Linked DNA regions of Homo sapiens: all the other regions are linked to region 1. Evidence: promoter capture Hi-C in 16 types of primary human blood cells and fetal thymus (Javierre and others, 2016). All regions are on one chromosome and are shown on one strand. The core of a region is centred on a gene start or on the middle of the fragment in contact, and the rest is flanking DNA. Distances in the headings are between cores, read along the strand shown.

What was found. The method cuts DNA at HindIII sites, captures the fragments that hold promoters and counts their contacts. A CHiCAGO score of 5 or more calls a contact.
Region 2: a fragment that was not itself captured here is called in contact with the fragment with the promoter of PCNX4-DT in region 1 in 7 of 17 cell types (fetal thymus, non-activated CD4 T cells, erythroblasts and 4 more); the score reaches 11.1 in fetal thymus.
Region 3: a contact is called between a fragment that was not itself captured here and the fragment with the promoter of PCNX4-DT in region 1, in 1 of 17 cell types (total CD8 T cells). The highest score is 6.0, in total CD8 T cells.
Region 4: a contact is called between a fragment that was not itself captured here and the fragment with the promoter of PCNX4-DT in region 1, in 1 of 17 cell types (neutrophils). The highest score is 6.0, in neutrophils.

Annotation. Positions count from the first base shown.
Region 1 is chr14:60,090,357-60,093,056 of GRCh38, reverse strand. It overlaps PCNX4-DT (PCNX4 divergent transcript), which reads left to right and starts at 1,311. Exons shown (of 5, transcript XR_943918.4): 1 at 1,311-1,354. PCNX4 (pecanex 4) reads right to left here and starts at 1,134. Exons shown (of 11, transcript NM_001330177.2): 1 at 638-1,134. RefSeq lists enhancers at 307-940, 904-1,093, 1,184-1,313. The HindIII fragment of the contact is 2,213 bases long and covers 1-2,072 here.
Region 2 is chr14:60,326,329-60,329,028 of GRCh38, reverse strand. No RefSeq gene overlaps it. Among named protein-coding and RNA genes, the nearest start is that of LINC02322, 4.5 kb to the right of the region's middle. RefSeq lists a silencer at 801-1,110 and an enhancer at 1,221-1,280. The HindIII fragment of the contact is 1,908 bases long and covers 451-2,358 here.
Region 3 is chr14:59,961,921-59,964,620 of GRCh38, reverse strand. All of the region lies in intron 10 of LRRC9 (leucine rich repeat containing 9), which reads right to left. Among named protein-coding and RNA genes, the nearest start is that of LRRC9, 43 kb to the right of the region's middle. The HindIII fragment of the contact is 670 bases long and covers 960-1,629 here.
Region 4 is chr14:60,270,225-60,272,924 of GRCh38, reverse strand. All of the region lies in intron 1 of PPM1A (protein phosphatase, Mg2+/Mn2+ dependent 1A), which reads right to left. Among named protein-coding and RNA genes, the nearest start is that of PPM1A, 22 kb to the right of the region's middle. The HindIII fragment of the contact is 5,154 bases long and covers 1-2,700 here.

The DNA of each region.
Region 1 (2,700 bases), core at 62-2,561:
GGGGATTTGGCGTGAGTGGCGGTGGATACCAAATAACATGAAGGGCAGTCTTTGCCCTAACTGCAGGAATGATTTAATGAAGAAAACAAACACCTAAAAATAGTAAAAAATGAGTAAGTGAAAAATGATGGATACAGAGCAGATAACCAATTCAGCGGCATGGAAAACAACTTCCGATTCACTGGAGTAAATTCTGGTCCTGGAGAGACAAGAGGTTGTGGGGACAGAGGTCGAGATCAGTGGGGAAGGAGCGCTTCACGTTCAGGGGGCCATGAGTTGAACAATTCGGACAAAAGAGGTTTAGTTGGAGATATTGCGAGAGTACAGTTCTACCTAACGGACACAGCTCCGGGTGGGTGTGCCATATTCCATTTCGTACGAGTCTCTTAGAAACAAAATGCTACAATTCAACAGGCTAAAGTAGTCTTTCAAAGGAAAGTTAAAATCACACTGAATTACTATCTCTAATGACTGAGTTCATTAAGCGCAATAATTGCACTTAAAGGTTTTGCAACGAAAAACGAAAAATATGTTTCTTGTGGCAATGAAAGCCCCTAGAACAACTTGGCTCTCCGCACAGGCTTGGACATTAAGATGCCGAAGAAGTCCCGAGGTGGACGTCGGACAACGAACGTACCTCAAGTCACCCGAGGGAAGAGAAGACGCGAAGGCATCCCAGGGACCGCATTTTTGCAGGTAAACTCGGGCTGGGCGCTCCCGCCGGGAGGTTGGTTAGTGCCCGAATGCGGAGGCAGAAAAGCTGCGGCGGCCGAATAACGAGCTCACCGCGGCCCCGCCCGGGCCAGCTCTCGGTTTCCATGGCTAACGTCTACTCCGGCGGCCGCCACCCGGAGCTGAACGGAGCGCGTGCGCGTTCGGGGACCTCGTCGGCGCCTGGCTGGCCTCGCTGCCCCGGTCTGTGCTCGCTCCCGAGGCGGGCCCTGCCGTAAAGCAGGCTTGGCCTAGAGGAAGCAGGGAAATAGCGCGCTTCGTTCGCGCCAGGACTAGGCCAACATCTGCCTGGCCGGGGACGACGGGAGTCGCTCGTGCTCTGGTCTCGCACTGGGCCTAGCAGAAGCAGCAGCGGGGAAAGCCGAGACGCCCTGAACGTTCCCTTGGGCCGGGCCTTTACGCAAGAGCGTCGTTGCCCTGGTGACGTGACGTCCTTCCTCAGGATTGTGCGCCGGGGTGGGGAAACAGACGTGCAACCGCCATTTTGCGCATTAATTTACCAGAGGTCGGGTCAGGCTGTCTTAACGCAGGCAGAGGGGTGTGGCAGATCTCCAACCGCTCGGGGTCCCGTGATTTCCATTAATGAATTCGCACACTGGCGTTACCACTCAACACACCGACGGTAATGAATGTTTTTGAGTGATACTTCATGCAGCCTATTCGGCTTGGACGATTGGGGACTGCATAACGTGATCGCTATCGCCTCAGTTTGTGGCTGCGTTTTAAAATACAAGGAACCAACATGTCCATTATAGAAACGTGTTATTAAGATATTAATAAAACAAGGCAGAGTTCCGGCGTTCCAATTAAAAGGCCATGGCTGATTCATATTAGTGTGGCGGGAATCTTTACAGCCTGGCCGCAAAGACCCCAATTAACGCTAGTTAAAAAGTTATCCCTATACCCAGGGCTCACCTCCCCCATTCTCCACGAAATATGATCCCCCCCCCGCCCCACCAAGTTCTGGACACGTTCCAGATTGCCAACTGGGAGTCCTCAAGACGGCCCCGGAGAGCGTTAACAATGATTGGTCTCAGCTGATTTAGAGGCTCGGGTAAGGGAACTTTGAAGCTAACTTGTCGGTATCAAGGTACCCGCAATTCCCCCATGTGATTGGGTAGATGCCCTAGCAGTTCTGCACACTTCAGCGTCCAAGATGACTTGTGGACTGTTTTGTTTGGATCTCCATTCCTCAAAACTATAAATGCGGCCTTAATTTTTTTTTTTTTTTAATTCTTGGCTCTTGGCTGTCTTGGAAATGCTGACTTTGTATTTAAGTATTTAGGTTTTCAGGTCGTAATAGAAAAATAATTACTGTGTTCATATTAAAAGCCAAAGCTTTATTTATTTATTTTTAAGATATTGTGTCCAGAGCAAAAGTGTAGTGTGTTGAAAGCATGTGGAAGAAAACCCCGGATATACATATACTTGTCTTCAAGGACTTAATTTGCAGGTAGACCCTTTCATAGTTTGGTATCTTCACGATTTGATAGAATATGGGAAAACGTGCTGTTGGTCCATCCATAGTTTTTCTCATTGAAGCTCACTCATTGCGGGTCAGAGTACCACATTAAGCATCTCGGAAGCATCACTTACCGCCAAGAAGTCTGAGTTTCATGTAATTAAGAGTGGAGGCTCCAGAGTCAGGAAGTCTGGGTTGAAACCCTGGCACTACTGCTTACTACTTGTGAGATCTTGAGGTTATGTAATTTCTCTAGTGCTCAGTTTCCCCATATCTTGTAAAATAAGGCAAATAATAGAACTTAACCCGCAGAGAGTTATGTCATTGGATTAAATCAAATAATTGTAAATTGCTTAGCAGAGTAAATGGCACAGCTTAAGTGCTTAGTAAGGATGAGCTATTATCTTTATGTAGAGAGTCTGTATTTATGCTTGTTCTTCTCATGGGCATTACATATGACCCAAGCAGAATTAACATGTTTATTGTTGAAATATCTGCTGTTTTTC
Region 2 (2,700 bases), core at 155-2,654, 240 kb before region 1:
AATGAATGAATGAACCTCAACCTTTCTCACCTTCAGTGAAAAGCACTGCAAGGTGATTGAGGAGAAAATAAGGAAGCCTTAGTCCCTGACATTTGTTGAGAAAGGGGTCGAGGAGATGATGAGGGGTGGGGAGAGGAGGCTTTTCCCATGGAACTCTCCAACACTGCTGCAGAAAGCCAAGCACATGACATGCACCACACGACCCCTAGGTGGTGGTCCTTGCAGCCGATTTCAGAGACCATAGCCCCAAAAGTGCAGAGGGTTCCTCTGTTCCCTCTCCTTGGACAGTTCCCATTAGTCTGTCTGGCCTTACCTTTCTAAAGAAATTTGCCGCTTGAAAATCACAGTGATGTACGTTATTGAGTCCCCAGAACTCTCAATCCCCTCTGTTTTTGCCCATCCCAAGCCCAAACTGGCAAGCTCTCTTTCTGCCCGATCTTCCAGGAAGCTTCCCCAACTGCCACAGTCCTGTCCAATTTCACTGAATTTTATTATTTTCAATAGACATATTTTTTAAATGTCTCTCTAAAAGCGACTTAAGATTATTATGTAAGATTTTTATAAGATTATTAACTTTGTAAGATTTTGCCCATCTGAATCAATCTCCAAATCATAGAAAAAATGTTATTGACCTGATAATCGTGTTTCAATCCGGGGTTTGGAAAAGATGTTCACCACATGGAAATCATGGCTAAGACCCATTTCGCACAAAATGCACACTCAGGCATGGTTCAGTATCACGGTGCAGTGTGTGCGTGTCGGGTACCTCACCAGCCACACTTCGGCTTTGTAAAGGTGGGTTGGGGAGCCGAGTCCTCCCATCCTTTCACAGCCCCCGCAGGCCCTGGGTGAATGCTGGTCTAGTGAATTCACAGCTCCCGGGCAACTCCCAGCCGCGAGGCGGGGCGGCAGGGTGGAGGGAGCCACCCGCGGAGAGGCCTCGACCCCCACCCCAGCGAAGCCTAGGGCCGGGGAGCTGCACCTCGGCGCACCCCGCCTGGCGCCCTGAGCCCGCGTGGGCCCGGGCCGGGTTTGCGGGGAGGCAGCTCGGCTCCCGGAGGTCCTCCCGCAGGCGGCGCCCTCCGAGCCAGGCGCGAAGTGCACCCAGGCCCCGCAGCCCAGCGCCGCGTGGCCATCCAGAGGGATTTGTCAGCGCGCCCTATATAGCCGCAGACAGCTGCCATCTGTTATGTTTAGTAACACCACCACGCCGCTCCCCCTTCCTTGAGAATAAACCCGCCTTGGTCATTAAGCCACGAGGATATTTTTTTAACGACTCCCACTCCCTCTTGCAAGCAGTCTTAGCTCATCAGTCCGGGTCTGAGTCTTGAGCGCCCAATTCTGCTTCCTCACTGCGTCCTGGGCGCTCTCTGAGCTGGACGAGCCATCCACTGTGGGCTTGGGCCCCGGGCAGGTGCTTACAGGAAAAGGCGGAGACAGCGCCTCCCTCCATGGGTGCAGCGAGGAGAAAAATCCGTGGTGTGTGACCATTTTAATGCATCGCATTTCAGTTCTGCAAATGCAAAGTGTAAATTAGGCTAGAACATGATTGTGAATCAGACCAGACGTCATGATTAATTTATCACTGTGCTCCAGATACATCAGCTAAAATAATATGAATTTAAAGTAACGGTTCCTCCCGCCTTTGTGTTTGCTGGTGAACTCTAAAGAATAGATCACTAGAGAAATAAAGGAACTTAAGAGTCCACTCTATTCTCGTATTAGCGGAGCATGAACATAATTAAACATTCTCAATAAGGTTTCTTCCACCGTTTGAAATTAAATTTGCCCACCCACATTTTGTATCCGTCTGTGTAACACTCACTGATGCACCCTGAGCTGCTGATAAACATTGAGGCGGAGATTAGCTTTTTCATATTTCAGGTAACATTTATGATGCCTCAAGTTCTGGTTCCCAAACTGGCTGATTATCAAAATTGTCTAGGGCCTTGCCACTAAAAGTGTGGTCCATGAAGTAGCGGCACGGTATCACTTTTGAGATCGTTAGGAATGCAGAATCTCAGGCCCTACTCAGACCTGTTGATGGGAGTCTAAATTTTTTACAAGACCTGCCCTCACCACATCACCACCCCCATTAAAGTTTGAGAAGAATTGATGTAGTTTTTTAAAAACCACAAATACCTTTGCTCAGACATCTATATATGTTTAGTAAGCAGCCGAGTTGATTCTTATAAGTTGAGTTGTCAAGTTTGGAGGTCACTGGTCTTTGAGGCTCAAGGTTCAGATGACTTTTATGCTGATGACATGAACCAAATTTATTAAATCAGTGGAACTCTCTCTGAAAGTTTGGTACAGGTGAGTTTATCTGTTTAGTCATCCATGAATTACAAGAAAGCTTATTAATTATTTAGTTAAATAATGACACATTTAGTCCTCCAATTAGGAAAGCTCAACACTAGGAAGGAGGATTTTCTCCTTATGTAACTGGCTCATTCACTCCCAGACTGAGTGTAGGCATGAGGAAATCTTTTGCTTGGCCATCAAAGCCGCCCCCACCCCCTTCGAATGTTCTGACTTTCTTTATAACAGTACCTTTCATTCAGAAGAATACAAACATCCCTTGTGCTGCTGTTCAGTGATGTTGAGGGCTGTACTGGAGGACTGTGTCTAGTTCTGGACCTCACAATAAAAGAGGGATGTGGGGACCTTGGCAAAGGTTCAGAAGATATTTGTAAAGGT
Region 3 (2,700 bases), core at 45-2,544, 130 kb after region 1:
GCTGTAGGCGTTTTAGATAAAGTTTTTGCTATATAGGGGATATTGGGCTTGAGGCGTCTCATGAATGGGTGGAAGGAATGAATAAACAATACCTAGCTCCTAGGCTGGTTCCCCAGGAAGGCAGGAGCTATGAAGTGTGATTTTTTCATGGAGATTTTATGTTGCCCAGGAATTCAGCAGCTGAGCAATGATGAAGTAAGTGTGAGGTATGCAAAAGCATTCTGGGTGAAGGAAACAGAACAAACAAAACCACTTATGTGGTGGAGTACTGCGTTTGCTTCAAGAGCAGTGCGGTACACAGTTCAGCTGACTTTAAAAGAGTTGAACAGAAGTTATGATAGTCTAAAACTATACAGTGGAGAACACTGATCCTTTACTGTAGGTGAAGAGTCTGCCAATAAAACAAAACAAAAGCCTTTGCAGCCATTTGTTACCTTCCAAATTACATTCAGACTCTTCACCTACAGTAGAGGATTCAATATTCTCCACTGTATGGTCTCTAAACTAATCATAACTCCTGTTCAAATCCTTTAGAGTCAGCTGAACTGTGTACCTTACCCTCATTCATTCAGTGGTACTTGAAGGTATAAACATTCACAATGATATATATCAATGACTAATATATTCAGTTACACAGAAAGATGCCTACACATTTTGTTAATATACAATAATGTGCTCATTTAGCAAATGTAGGCTACACACGTTTTTAAATGTTTGAAGCTTAATGTAATCTATTAAAATATACTTTATAATCCTATATAAAGGTTTAATAAATACTTTTACAGGCTTACTGACTTAAATCAACAGTTTCAAAGCCCTGTAAAACAGAAAGTTTCTGCTTATGTAGCTCCTTGAGATAGTATAGCATGAAATCTTTATAAAGAGGCAGATTAATTACTGAAAGTCATTATATACACCAAAGCAAAACTGTTGTGTATCTATAAAGTGATATGGAAGCTTCAACTAGTAAATATGTACTGGGCTATTAATCCAGTCCCATGCTAGATGTTATGTCTTATAAGACACAAAACATCATATCTTCCCCAAAGGAACTTACAGAGTCACTTATATATTGTTTTGTCGTATTTTAAAGGTGTTTTTTTTTTTTTAGTTGTAAATACACTGTATCTATGACCAGGCTGACAGCTTCTCAGGCACAAGGACAGCATCTTTTATGCTTTGAAGTCCCTACTTGATAAATGTTGTATGATGTCAATGGGTAACTCAATTGGCAACACATCGGTAAATAATACAAATCTATAATAATAAAGGTATAGTAGCAACAATCCACTCAACTAGCATGTCTCTATAAAATAAGATTTTTGTAAACTGGAAAATATAATAATTTTATTTCATAAAAGAAATGAAGCTAAGAGATAATGACATACAATTAGAAACATGCAGTGTTTTGTTGTTGTTAAAGACATAAAGATAATTTTAACAGAAAATCTTTCAGTCCTAGTTCTACTGAAATACTTTTTATTTAAATACTGAATCCTTAGCCTTAAAAATATTAATAGGAGAAGTCAGTGTTTAAATAAAACAACTAGAAATGTAGCATAGCAATTTAAAGCACTTAGTAGTTATTTCTTAACATACATAAAAGATCAGAGGAAAAGTAGCCAAGCTTGCAGTATGCTAAAACTAAAAAACAGTACTTTAAATTCTGCTAACATATATTTGATATATTCCTTAAAACAAATCAAAGTTACTCTTATTAAAACCAAGTAAACAGGTTAATGCTAATCAAAATCCATCAAAGCTATCTAATTTACTATCAGGCTGACATAGTTATCTAAATGGCTTTTTGGTCATTTTGCTTTTACATTTTTTTTTTTTTCACTAATCCACTTGTTGCAAAGAGTTTCCTCTGCAATAATTTAAAAAGAAACAAATAATTTTTAAAAATCCTGTTTGGAGCTGGGCACAGTGGCTCATGCCTGTGATCTCAGCACTTTGGGAGGCCGAGGTGGGAAGATCACTTGAGGCCAGGAGTTTGAGACCAGCCTGGCCAACATGGCAAAACCCCGTCTCCACTAAAAATACAAAAATTAGTGGGTGTGGTGGCATGCACCTATAATCTTAGCTACTCGGGAGTCTGAGGCAGGAGAATCGCTTGAACCTGGGAGGCAGAGGTTGCAGCGAGCTGAGATCGGGCCACTGCACTCCAGTCTCGGGGACACAGCGAGACTCTATCTCAAAAAAAAAAAATCCTGTTTAGGTTGAGTGAATATAAATGTGCACCCAGTAGAGACACACCATTCAGTTTTTGCACTTGAAAAATCAAGGCCTTTACTTGTTTACATGGGAGCTGGATGAACACCTTTTATATCTTTGTATATAAAAATCAAAAAATGTGGTTAAGCAAACAGTAGTAACTGCTGGGCAAATGGATGTACTAATACAAAGGAAAGTATTTTCAAAGGCCTCTTTTTCCCTTGCGAAGAGCTTCTTACACTTTTCCATCAGAGTTCTCCCAAGACCTTTGAGAAGCTTTTACTCACAGAGGTGAGAAAAAAGCCATGTCTAATAGAAATCAGGGGACTTGGTTTAAAGTAACCCATAACAATAACAGTTTTTTTTTCTAAAAAGTTAGTGTAAGTTTTACATTCTACACTATAAAAATTAGTATTTATTTTGACATTGACTTCAAGTAAAATCATGCTCCAGGGTTATGTGCCAAGTCCATTCTATAGTTTG
Region 4 (2,700 bases), core at 102-2,601, 180 kb before region 1:
GTTCTAGACAAAAACATGAGCAATCATAAAAGGAAAGAGTATCAAATTGATATTAGCCATCTCAACTGCAAAACTGAATCCAAAAGATATTAGAGAATAAACCAAGTTCTAAGAGTAAAGGTTCATGAAACTAGAATAACGTATCACCAAACTGATAATGGATATGGATATAAAGAGCATCTGAGTGTACACTTAGGGTCTTCTGTGTCTTTTTTTTTTTTTTTTTTTTTTTTTGAGACAGAGTCTCACTCTGTCGCCCAGGCTGGGATGTGGCGGCATGATCTTGGCTCCCGGCTTCAAGTGATTCTGTGCCTCAGCCTCCCAAGTACCTGGGATTACAGGCATGTGCCACCACGCCCAGTTAATTTTTTGTTATTTTTAGTAGAGATGGGGATTCATCATGTTGGCTACGCTGGTCTCAAACTCCTGACCTCAAGTGATTCCCCTGCCTTGGCCTCTCAAAGTGCTGAAATTACAGGCATGAGCCACCACACCAGCCTCCTGTGTGTCTTAAAATGTCTTCCACCCTCATCCCCCCAACACTCCCCCTAGTGTACACACATTCCTGGATACAAAGTATACACTCATACCATCTTTATAAAAAACTTGTGAGAAAAAATTCCAGCCAAGCAAGTATCTACTCATTATATTTCAAAACCAAGTTCATCTCTATATGATTTTTCATTAGTTTAACTCTAATAACATGATTTAAAAAAAGAAGTAACCTGAATCTGTAAAAATAACACATCTAGAAAAACAAAATCAGGAATATAAAGTAAAAAGAACTTAGACTTGCCCAATTATCCAACAATAGGGAGACACTTCATGTCACATGACACATCAACATCAAAGCACATATGAAACATCAAAAAAAAAAAAAAATGGAAATACCTGTCACCACAAGATTAAAGTTAAAAATTATAGGTCTATCCAATATGCGATACTGGACAAGTCCTTTGGCTTAATGTCTAACTTTCCTCATCAATAAATAAGCAACCTTGATTATTTGTCAATTACCTTGTTCTGAGAAATGTATAAAATGTTACATGAGAAGACTAAAGTTCTAGGAATACCTAGGTAAATATCATTAGTAAAGTAATACTTTAAAATCATGTGGATGGAATTCCCATTAAAAAAAAAACCTCTTATTCTCAATATCAAGATTATAAGAGACACACAAAATTATTTTACTACAGCAAGACCAGCTTGTAAGAAATGAAAAGAAAAAAGCAGCTACAAACTAGGTTACAAACTGATAACCTGATAACCTGAATTTGACCTTCACGTATTTCCTCTCCCTAGAACAACATGCATTCTCGAGTCCCTAGCAATCCTTATTGACCACATCCAATTCAATTCATATACTTTTCCACCATGGCATCAGAGTTTGCATCATTCGGTAAAGAGGACAGTATCTGTGATTCTAACAAACAGCACAATCTATGAGGCTTTACTCTAATCCAATTTTTGACTAATATGTCTGCCTCACTCTAAAGTAGCAAAACAAAATGATACCTAGTAGGCTGAATAATGACTCCCAAAGATACCAGTCCTAATCCTATAAATGTTACCTTATTTGGAAAAAAAGGTCTTTGCAGATGTGATTAAGAATCTTGAGATGGAGAGAGGATCCTGGATTATCCAGAGACCTCTAAGTGAACCCACATGTCCTTAGAATAGAGAGTCAGGGGAAGATCTGACACACACAGAGAAGGTGATGTGAAGACAGAGCAGACACAGATTTGAAGACGCTGGTCTTAAAGATTCGAGTGATGTGGCTACCAGGCAAGTGATGAGGCTGACAGCCACTGGAAGGTGAAAAAAAGCAAGAAACAGATTCCTCCTTAAAGCCTCGGGAGTGAGCACATTCTTGGTGACACCGTGATTTTGTCCCCGTGAAAATGATATTGAACTTGTGGCCTCCAGAACTGTGAGAATAAATCTGTATTGTTTTAAGCCACCAAGTTCGTGATAATTTGTTATAGCAGCCATGGAAATTAGCAGAATGCCCAATAGTCAAGTTCTTCTGTTGGGAAAGAAAATCTGCCAAACTTGTAAAGATGAAAATGTGCAGTAATTTCAACAAGCATCAAGAGACAAATCAAGAAAGACAAAGTTTCTTACCTGTAACAGGTTAATAGGACAAAATCCCTATCATTTCTCTCAAAAATAATGAAATATGATAACTAAAATAATCAGTAATTTCAACAAGCATCGAGAAAAATCAAGAAAGACAAAGTTTCTTACCTGTAACAGGTTAATAGGACAAAATCCCTATCATTTCTCTCAAAAATAATGAAATATGATAACTAAAATAATTTAATATAATTCAGCCTGTTAAATTCCAAGGGGGAAAGAGGTAATGGTATCCTAGTATAATGACAGAACAGGCAAGGAGTAGCTAGTTATTTTTGGGCAAACAACAGAGAAAACTGCCACCCTTTAAGTAAAAAAGCAGAAAAAAATTTATAGAACCCATACAAAAATTCTGAAATAAAAAAGTAACTAAAAAAGTACTCAAGAACATGATGTCACAGTCTAAAAGATTTACCTTAGAAAACTAGGTGACAACTTACATATAAGAAAATTTTAAAAAACCTAATTTGTGAAACAGGGATGAAAAGAAACCAGAATATAAAAAGTATCAACAGAGCTTTTAAAAAAAGATATTTCAGAGAAAAAATATCATTGCAATATTTT